Regions from separate parts of the Homo sapiens genome. Here all the other regions are linked to region 1. Evidence: promoter capture Hi-C in 16 types of primary human blood cells and fetal thymus (Javierre and others, 2016). All regions are on one chromosome and are shown on one strand. Each heading gives the region's core, a stretch centred on a gene start or on the middle of the fragment in contact. The rest is flanking DNA. Distances are from core to core; before and after follow the strand shown. Region 1 holds the start of GBP4 (guanylate binding protein 4). Region 2 has its middle 28 kb from the start of LRRC8C-DT. Region 3 has its middle 55 kb from the start of LRRC8B.

Region 1 (3,015 bases), core at 170-2,669:
AGACATATTGCTATGTATATTTTCTATGTGCATAGACATATTGCTATGTGCAATCATTATACATACAACTGTGAATTAACAATTTTTTTTGAGACAGTATCTCACTCTGTTGCCCAGGTTGGAGTGCAGTGGGACCACCATGGCTCATTGCAGCCTTGACCTCCTGGGCTCAGGTCATCCTCCCACCTCAGACTCCCAGGTAACTAGGACTATTATAACAGGCACATGCCATTATGCCCAGCTAATTTATTATTATTATTATTTGTAGAGATGGGGTTTCCCCATATTGCCCAGGCTGGTTTCCAATTCCTGGACTCAAGTGATCTGCCCACCTTGGCCTCCCAAAATGGTTGGATTGCAGGAGTGAGCCACCACACCCAGCCTAAATTTCTTCTTGATTAACATTTCCATGATTATCTGAAGTCAGTAACATTGGATTATCTGGAAAGGGGTGCCACTGGTGAAATTCAGGTGTTTCAAACACATTTACCTGGATTCAGTCATCCCTGTACTTTTTCTTCTTCTTCTTTTTTTTTTTTTTTAAGAGAGAGGGACTTCCTGACATTAAAAAATGGTAAGAGAAAAAAGCACCTGATTTCTTATTACTGGTCCTATTTAAAACTTGACTTAGCTTTATTTTCACTTTCAATATTGCTTATAGGAAATAAATGTTAAGTTTTGAATCAAAATCGGCACCAGTAATTTTACCTGATTAAGTGCCTAAAATTTTGTACTTATTAATTTGCAAATGTTTAATCAGACATTACTAAACAAATAGGAAGATCTAAGGGATAGGCACAAATGGGGAATCATTACCCATTTATTTCAGATAGATTTCCCAAACTCTGTTAACAAACTGGCTAGTCATTTTAGGAACTGAGTCCATTTTTCTGGTAGCCTGGGTAAGACTCCTAATTATAAATTATGCTTTTTATGGTCCAATCATCCTCCTGTCCTCCAAAAGATCCAGTTTCAATGAGATGTTTGTGTTTTGAAAGAGAAGTATTTACTTGCCACCACCGCACCTCTGGGCAACAACGTTAGAGGATACATAGATATCCATAGACACACACACAAACACACACATATTTTATGGTTAATGAAAAAATAAAGAAAAGAGATGAGAAACAGAAACATATAAGCATGTAAAAAAAAATAAAAGCAAACAAAAACTCAAATTTCTTCCCTGACAAAATTACCCCTGAGAGACAGGTAGATGAAACAACATTCATGTCTGCTGCTCTATATTCATTTTGGAGGCGAAAGATACCTAAGCTAAGGGTGGAAGAGGGACAAACAAACCTGAGTTTCAGGAGTCTGGTGTGGAGGAACCAGCACTTTCAAGCTCCTTTAGTTTCCTGTCTTGATAAACAGGAAAATCCCCAACAGTCAACTCCCCACAAAGTGCATGTCCTTTCAATTTCGGTTCTCACAGACTCTTACTTGGATGTCTGTAAATCCGGCTGGACTTTCAGCTTCTAAGAACAGTCCGTTTCTCGAGGATCCAGGCGCAGGAGGACAGAGCAATGGGTGAGAGAACTCTTCACGCTGCAGTGCCCACACCAGGTAAGTTTGCTCTTAAGCTTTACCTTTCAAGTATATTTGGGTTATAACAAACAACAACAAATTCCCAAGCGCAGACTGCACACGGGGAGGGTTGGAGACTTCACACTGGCGGGTGACAAAGGCAGTGGAGGAACCTCGCGGGGAAGTCTGATGCTGCTTGAACCCCTGAGTGCTTTGCTCCGTGTGGCCCAGCGTCTCTAGACGGTCCACAGGCGGCGACCAGAGGCGCACCGGTGTCTCCAGGATGCGCTGCTCCTCCTCGGGCTTCCTCCCAGAGCTGTGGCATTTTCTCCTGCGAAATACCATCATCTAGTATACATATACACATTTTTTGCTTGTTTGTTTTATTAATTTTCTGTCCCCCACTAGAATATGTGATACCCTACCTTGTTTTAACCTGAGTTGACTCTCCCTTAGCTGAAAGAGCCAGACAGTCTGCATCTCGGCTCCTTCACTTGCAGCCCCTTACCCACCCGCTTCCTCAGGGACTTAACTTGTGCAAGCTGACTCCCAGCACATCCAAGAATGCAATTAACTGATAAGGTACTGTGGCAAGCCATACCCGCAGTTCCCAGGAATTCGCCCGGTTAACAGCACCCAGAGCCCCCCGCGTTTGTGTCTGGTTGATAAAGCCCAAAGCCCCGCTTCTATCACCTTGTGATAGAATTAAAGCCCCTGCACCTAGTACTGTTTACTTTCCTGTAACCATTTATCCTTTTAACTTTTTGCCTACTTTACTTCTGTAGGATTGTTTTAACTAGACCCCTCCCCCCAACCTCTCCTTTCTAAACCAAAGTATAGAAGAAAATCTAGCCCCTTCTTCGGGCCGAGAGAATTTTGAGCACTAGCCGTCTCTCGGTCGCCGGCTAATAAAGGACTCCTGAATTCGTCTCAGAGTGTGGCGTTTCTCTGTAACTCGCTGGGTTACAACAAATAGAGCTCCAAGAGGCAGAAGTTTGTATCAATTATGTTCCTTGCTTGTTGCTGAGAATCTAGAACGGTGTTAATTAGCACATGGTAGGTACGCAATACTCTTTATTAAATTAATGAGAGAGCAAATTCTTCTGGAATGCCTGGAGCCTTTTCTAACCACTCCTCATCTCCTTTTTGTAACATCCTGCCCCTATTTATTCCAGGAGTGGAATTATTCTGCCATCAGTGCCTTGATTTTCTAATTCTGTTTATTTTATGCATCACCTTGACAAGGCATTTTTAGCGTTCTTGTAAGAATCATAAATAATGTACATAACAGATCTGTACTAGTCTTTGACATGCTAAACTAAATATTTTTCCATTTGAAATGTACAAATTTTATATACATAGAAATTTTATATACCATTAAACGTAGAAATATATTTATATACCATTAAAATGTAGAAATTTTATATACCATTCCACAAGCAAAAAGCTAATATGTATGTGCCTTAGGTAGCCCTTAGGGATGACTTC
Region 2 (3,015 bases), core at 365-2,864, 410 kb before region 1:
GCTAGTGATATTCTGCCATCAAACTTAACACAGTTGGGAGGGGAATACCCTGAAGATCTAAAGGACACTAGTTCAAGGTAGTGTATGCAGATGTGGTTGAGTTTTCACATACTGTTTAAGAACACAAACTTTGAAACCAGATCTAGATTCTAAACCAGTTTCCTTTGCTTACTAGCTGTGTGTCTTTTGGCAAATCACTTAACTTCCCCAAGCCTCAGTTCCCCCATCTATAGAATAAATGTCAGTTTTCTTCCTTTAACATCATTGTACCCATGCCCTCAAAGACTGTATCCAAAGTACTACTTCCTTATGCCATTTTCTTACCCACAAGGATTTAACAACTTCTCACTGTTTCAACAATTTGTCCACAAAAGTCTCCATTAGTGGTTTCTGGCATGTGCCTTTGCCCTTAGGCATCCTGGCTGACCCACTGGCCAGCACACACCTTGCAAATGCCCAGCTTTCAGCTATTTATTCATTATGCACCTACAGTGTAGAATACTGTAACAAATTATAGGTGCAGATACTATATTAGTGGAAGGGGACACAAATATGAACGAGATTTGGTTTCTGCCTTCAGATGACTGAGCGGGAAATCCATAACCTCACTACATTGGTATAAGGGTTCAGAATAACTAACTCCAATTTGGGGAAAGAGGGTGATTAGAGGAGTTATAGAGTGATATCATCTTAGTCTTGAAGAATGAATTGAGGTTTATTCATATGTGTATGTATGGAAAAAAGGAACTTCTGGTTGAGGGAACAGCCTGGACAAAGACATAGAGGTTAGAAAGGCTTGGCAGAGAGGACTGCCCTGTAGTTCCATATAGTGGGCTGGCAGGAATGCATGTGGGAAGTCCAGCACTGCCTGGAGGACTTGGATTCTGGCCAAAAGAAAACCACTGGGGTCAGGTCACATTGCTGCTTTGTTAAATCCCACAGGGCACAAAAGGGCAAGAACATTCACATTTCTGGTGAGTCACATGTAAACAGCTGTATTTTTGCCAAGGTCTCTTCCAAAAGGTACTGAGGCTGGGGGCATCTTTCACACAAGGTGACAGAGACGTTTCTGCGGCTGACACCATTCCAGTCTTATGACCTTAGATTTCATTTTATCAAGCTTCTACTATCTATAGTTACAAGAAACAAGACCTCCTTTAAGTCATGCTGCCTGGCTGTGGTGAGAACGGACAAGGGTGTGGCTGTGGCAGATGGTATCAAAGAAGACCCTTACTGCCCCATTCCCAGTAGGTCCTTGAATGGGTACTGGGTAAGTTCCTGTGAACAATGGGGAACCCAACTCTCCATCCTATGTTCCCTGACTACCTGCTACTTCTAAGAGATGTGGGTACAGCCCTGGGAATGGCCTTTCTTCAGCCATTTCTTGGCCGTCCCTCCTCTTCATGGTAGGAGAGAGAAAAGAGGGAAGAAAGGACCCATGTGCTCCTGGTGGGCCAGATTCTTCTTTTCTGGTCCAATGTAATTTTCTCATGTGAAAGGGAACATTCCCTTCAAATATCAGCAAGATGGTCAGATGTTTATGCAGAATCTCAAAGCTCAGCATCAAGATTTCTGGTGAACATGGATGCTGTTTACACTAGCTTTACAGTCTAGTCAGGGAAACAGACACTAAATAAGTCATAGTTATCAAGAGGATGGATACCTCAAAGTATAGTACCAGTTGCCCTGGGAACAAACAACAGGGGGATCTAAGGATGGACTGGTCAGAAAAATGCCACCTTGAAGAAGTGACCATTTATACTGAGAACTGGATGAACAGGAGTTAGCTAGGCATAGGAATTAAGGAAGAGCCTTTTTGGCAGAAATGCATGTGCACAGACCAAGGCAGGAAAGGACATACTTTGAAATATTTTCTATCATCTTTGGAGGAAAACTCATTAAAGCTAACGTAGAAAGCAACCACTAGGGTCAGACAAGATGCTAACATTTTACACATATTATCTCGTGGAATCCTCTTAAGATCTTATGAGGTTTGTTTCTATGAGGAGTGGGTCTTATTTGTCCCTGCTGTCCCCCACTGTATTCACAATACCTTAGGCAGCATCTGGGTAAGTAGCAGACACTCAATATTTATAAAATAAAGCTTACATTTTACAGACGAGGAAGCTGAGGCTCAGAGGTACAAGATGACTCAAGAGTTACTGGTGAAAATAGGGCTCTGATCCAGGTTGGAGATGAGTACCTTCTGGGCTGTCAGTCCAGGAAAATGCTCTTGTCTTCTTCCAGATAAAGCAGAGACTAGGCCGGGCCTTGGACAGTCTTAGACTGGGCATGAGGGCACAGAGCAAGTGAACAGCACATAGCTATGTCTGCCCACTGCATTATCAGATGAACCTGGTGAGCGCATAGTCTGCCCTTGGAGCTGGCACCCAGGTGGGGCTGTACCCTAAGACCAGGCAGAAGTTAACATCTCTCAGTGCACTGAAACCTAGAGTCATGTTTCTCCAACGGGGAGCCTGTTAGCTGACCTGACACTCAGGTCTCAGCTGAACAGAAACTGGAGAACTTAAAACTGTCAGGCATCTATTTGCCCTAGGTCAGACTCTGGGAGGAAAGCCAGTGATAAAGGGTCAGCCTCAGCTTTCAAATTTTGGTGTTAAAGCCCAAGACAGCCAAGTACCTCACAGGTCACCTTTATACCTGTGCAACCTCAGGACATTTCTCTTAACTGGGAATTGTAACCTGAGCATTGTGAAGGCCCTGCTGGGAATGTTTCTAACTGTACTGCCCTAAATAGCTTCTCTTCACTGTCTACTTGGCTCTCCTGACGGGGAGGCACTGCAGAACAGCCCTTTAAGATAATTCCATCCTCCTTCACTTGCTATTATGCTTGAGGTTCTTTAGTGAATAAAAGTCTTATTCATGTGTCATAAAAGTGAATCATTTCCAAAGCTGAAAAAAGAAATGTATGACATACTCAAGTTCTTAAGAAAATTACTCAGTATTAAACATGATCAACACTTCCCACTCACTCAGCATTTTATGTAGATCAGA
Region 3 (3,015 bases), core at 225-2,724, 270 kb before region 1:
TTTATGTTATATACCTTTTGAATTTTGAACCACATGCTTATGTTAACTACTAAAGATAAAACAAATTGGAATTTAAGAAAAATATAGTATATTATTATTTCATTTTGTATCAGAGAACTCCATTCAGCAAAATCACTTTTTGTGCTGATTGTAATGATTGAGATTCTTATCTAAATAATTAATTTTACAGATAAAGATTTATATAGTTGGCAAATTTCTTTGCTTTTCTTTATTTTTTAGAAAGTTCATTGTCTCATTTTTTTCTTTTTTTTTATTATTATACCTTAAGTTCTGGGATATATGTGCAGAATGTGCAGGTTAGTTACATAGGTATACACATGCCATGATGGTTTGCTGCATCCAACAATCCGTCGTCTACATTACATATTTCTCCTAATAATATCCCTGCCCTAGACCCCCACCCCCCAACAGGCCCCAGTGTGTAATTTTCCCCTCCCTGTGTCCATGTTTTCTTTACTTTTAACATTTGTTTTCTAGCTCAGAGCTTAGGGCATACATTGATTATTTCTTAAATTTGTTATATCACTTAGGTTTGTTAGATTAATACATAAATAGATTTGGAAGGGTCAAAAAGCTAGAGATTTTTGGAATGTGAGGTTCCTTGTCATTTAATAGAATTTCAAGATATTTCCTGAATACTCTGATACAAATAGACCTTTTTTAGAGAAGAAAAGTTTAGGGAACTGCAGTTACTCATGTATGCTTGGAGAGGAATATTGTCCTCATGGGTTGACCTCGTAGCACTGGCAGCAATACATGAGACTTAGAGGAGACAGGACTCTCAAACCATCCTAGTCAACCATCAGCTCTAAAGATAAATAGAGTGACATATGAGGCAGACAGAAGGCTTTTATTTCCAGAATTTCTGCAGAGGTTTTTGGAGTAAACATTTTGTGCATTTAAAATGTCTCTTAATATTCAGGAATCTTTCTTAGTCTTTGGTTTTGTCTATATTCTGGCCATTTCTAATTTCACCAGATGACCATGGAAGGTTGGTTGGAATTTGGAATGCAGCCCAGGGAAATACTGCTCACCTAAGTAGCTCTTGTTTAACTTTAGTGGAGGAGAAGGTAAAAATGAATGCCCACTCTGTGGATGAAGGTAGGTTTTGGAGCTCATTTATTCATCTCTTTCCCAGGTTGGCACGAATTAAAATAAAAAAATTAATCTCACTCTGTCTCCAGCTATTGTAAAACAATTTCTGATTTTTGTTTGTCTTTTCTTATTCTTTTTCTCAAACTCTCCAGCTTCACTAAATTTAATTTATGATGTTTTAAACTAAATAAACTGAAAAAGACTTCGAGATGAATCATTTTCTATTTATAATTTGTTTAGGTATCCCAGTTTTTCAGTCATATCTCTTGAAAGACTCAGGATTTTTATCATAACCTTTTAAAATTTGGTATATTACCCTTGAGGGGTAAGTGCGATGTTTGCCTAGAATCCTGCAATTTATGAATTTAAACAGCAAAAATAAATCACTACCGGCATTATATTAACAAAAGATTTATAGTCACCACAAAGCTGCAAACAATAAGATGTTGTTATTTAGCTTCAACTTGATTAAAAAACTGAGCAAGTGATTATACATTCATGGCTTTTGCTCCTGTAGCTCAATGTGAAATATAGTATGGGAACCAGTTTTCTAGGTGTTTCGGTTACCTATTATATATAGCTTGGGGTGGTTTGTTACCACCCCATCAGCATTGTTCTGAAGCTGCAATGAGATGGGCAATATAAGGTCTATAAGCATTCAATTATTATGAACTATTATTATTATCTTCCCTTATGATTTCAAGCACATTTATAACATAATAGTTATTTTAACTTGTATTTTCCTAGGCTCCCTGTAGTTTAAACAGCCAGGTTGATGATGATGCCCTTTACTAAAATAGAAGGAATGAGACAAAAATATGTAATTTTGCAAGGAATGATTCTAGAGGCTGTTAAGAATATGTATGAGCATATATTCAATTGTTCATGTATACATGCATAGATTTAATATATGCAGATGTATAACGAGAGAGAGGGAGAGAGAGAAAGAGAGAGGGAGATAATGAGAGAGAGGTAAGGGGTAAATAATTTTGGAGCCAACTATCCCAGCTGATAATGCATAACTAAGACCTTCATTACTCTTTGCTCTTGAAGACAGAAATTTTACCTTATTCATCTTTATAGTTTCTCTAACACACAACATTATCTGTCAACTTCATGTGGCAGGGCATTCATAATTTTTTTTGCTAAACTGTACTAACATATTCCAGCTAGAGTCAGCATGAGAAATAATCTGGAGACAATTTTTGAAGCTCCTCATTATTTCACAGATTCAGTTATTCCAGGTTAAACCATGCCTTTCATTTACTGAGTGTTCTAAATATTCTTCTTTGCTTTCTCAATATGGTAACAGAACACAGAGAAATGTACAATGTGAGTATTCTCTTTGTTTTTTAATGTCAATAACTTCTTTTAGAACTTGAAACAAACGTGTCTGTTTTGTCATTTATTAGTATTCAGTCCTAATTTATATTTATAATTCATAAAATGTTTTATTAGTCATTTCAGAATTTGATAAAAAAATAAACCTTTTAGGTATCACCATTATACTCATACAATCAGTAAGGAAGCATGCTCAGAGTTTAACCATTCAGCTAGTGCATGGTGGAAGTAGGACTTAAACTTTTGTCTTCCAACTTCAGGATGTGTGCATGGCAAGGGCTTCATCAGGAAAAAGCAACTTTGGGGATGTATATGAATTTAAATCATTCCTATTACCTTGAATAAGTTGAAATGATCCTGCATATTTCAAAATGTCTAATTAAAACACTTTAGAAACATCTTTTTTTTTTTTTTGAGGTGGAGTCTCGCTCTGTCACCCAAGCTGGAGTGCAGTGGCGCTATCTCGGCTCACTGCAAGCTCCGCCTCCTGGGTTCACGCCATTCTCCTGCCTCAGCCTCCCAAGTAGCTGGGACTACAGGCGCCCGCCACCACGCCCA

Evidence for each region. Contacts are between HindIII fragments. The CHiCAGO score rates a contact against its expected background, and 5 or more counts as called.
Region 2: a contact is called between a fragment that was not itself captured here and the fragment with the promoter of GBP4 in region 1, in 1 of 17 cell types (activated CD4 T cells). The highest score is 7.1, in activated CD4 T cells.
Region 3: a fragment that was not itself captured here is called in contact with the fragment with the promoter of GBP4 in region 1 in 1 of 17 cell types (activated CD4 T cells); the score reaches 6.9 in activated CD4 T cells.

The regions. Positions count from the first base shown.
Region 1 is chr1:89,197,346-89,200,360 of GRCh38, reverse strand. GBP4 (guanylate binding protein 4) reads left to right here and starts at 1,419. Exons shown (of 11, transcript NM_052941.5): 1 at 1,419-1,566. The coding sequence starts at 1,527. LOC107985076 (a long non-coding RNA gene) reads right to left here and starts at 2,014. Exons shown (of 3, transcript XR_002958332.2): 1 at 1,953-2,014; 2 at 1,303-1,858. RefSeq lists a silencer at 1,321-1,615. The HindIII fragment of the contact is 3,654 bases long and covers 1-1,585 here.
Region 2 is chr1:89,603,811-89,606,825 of GRCh38, reverse strand. No RefSeq gene overlaps it. Among named protein-coding and RNA genes, the nearest start is that of LRRC8C-DT, 28 kb to the left of the region's middle. The HindIII fragment of the contact is 984 bases long and covers 1,123-2,106 here.
Region 3 is chr1:89,467,979-89,470,993 of GRCh38, reverse strand. No RefSeq gene overlaps it. Among named protein-coding and RNA genes, the nearest start is that of LRRC8B, 55 kb to the left of the region's middle. The HindIII fragment of the contact is 4,080 bases long and covers 1-3,015 here.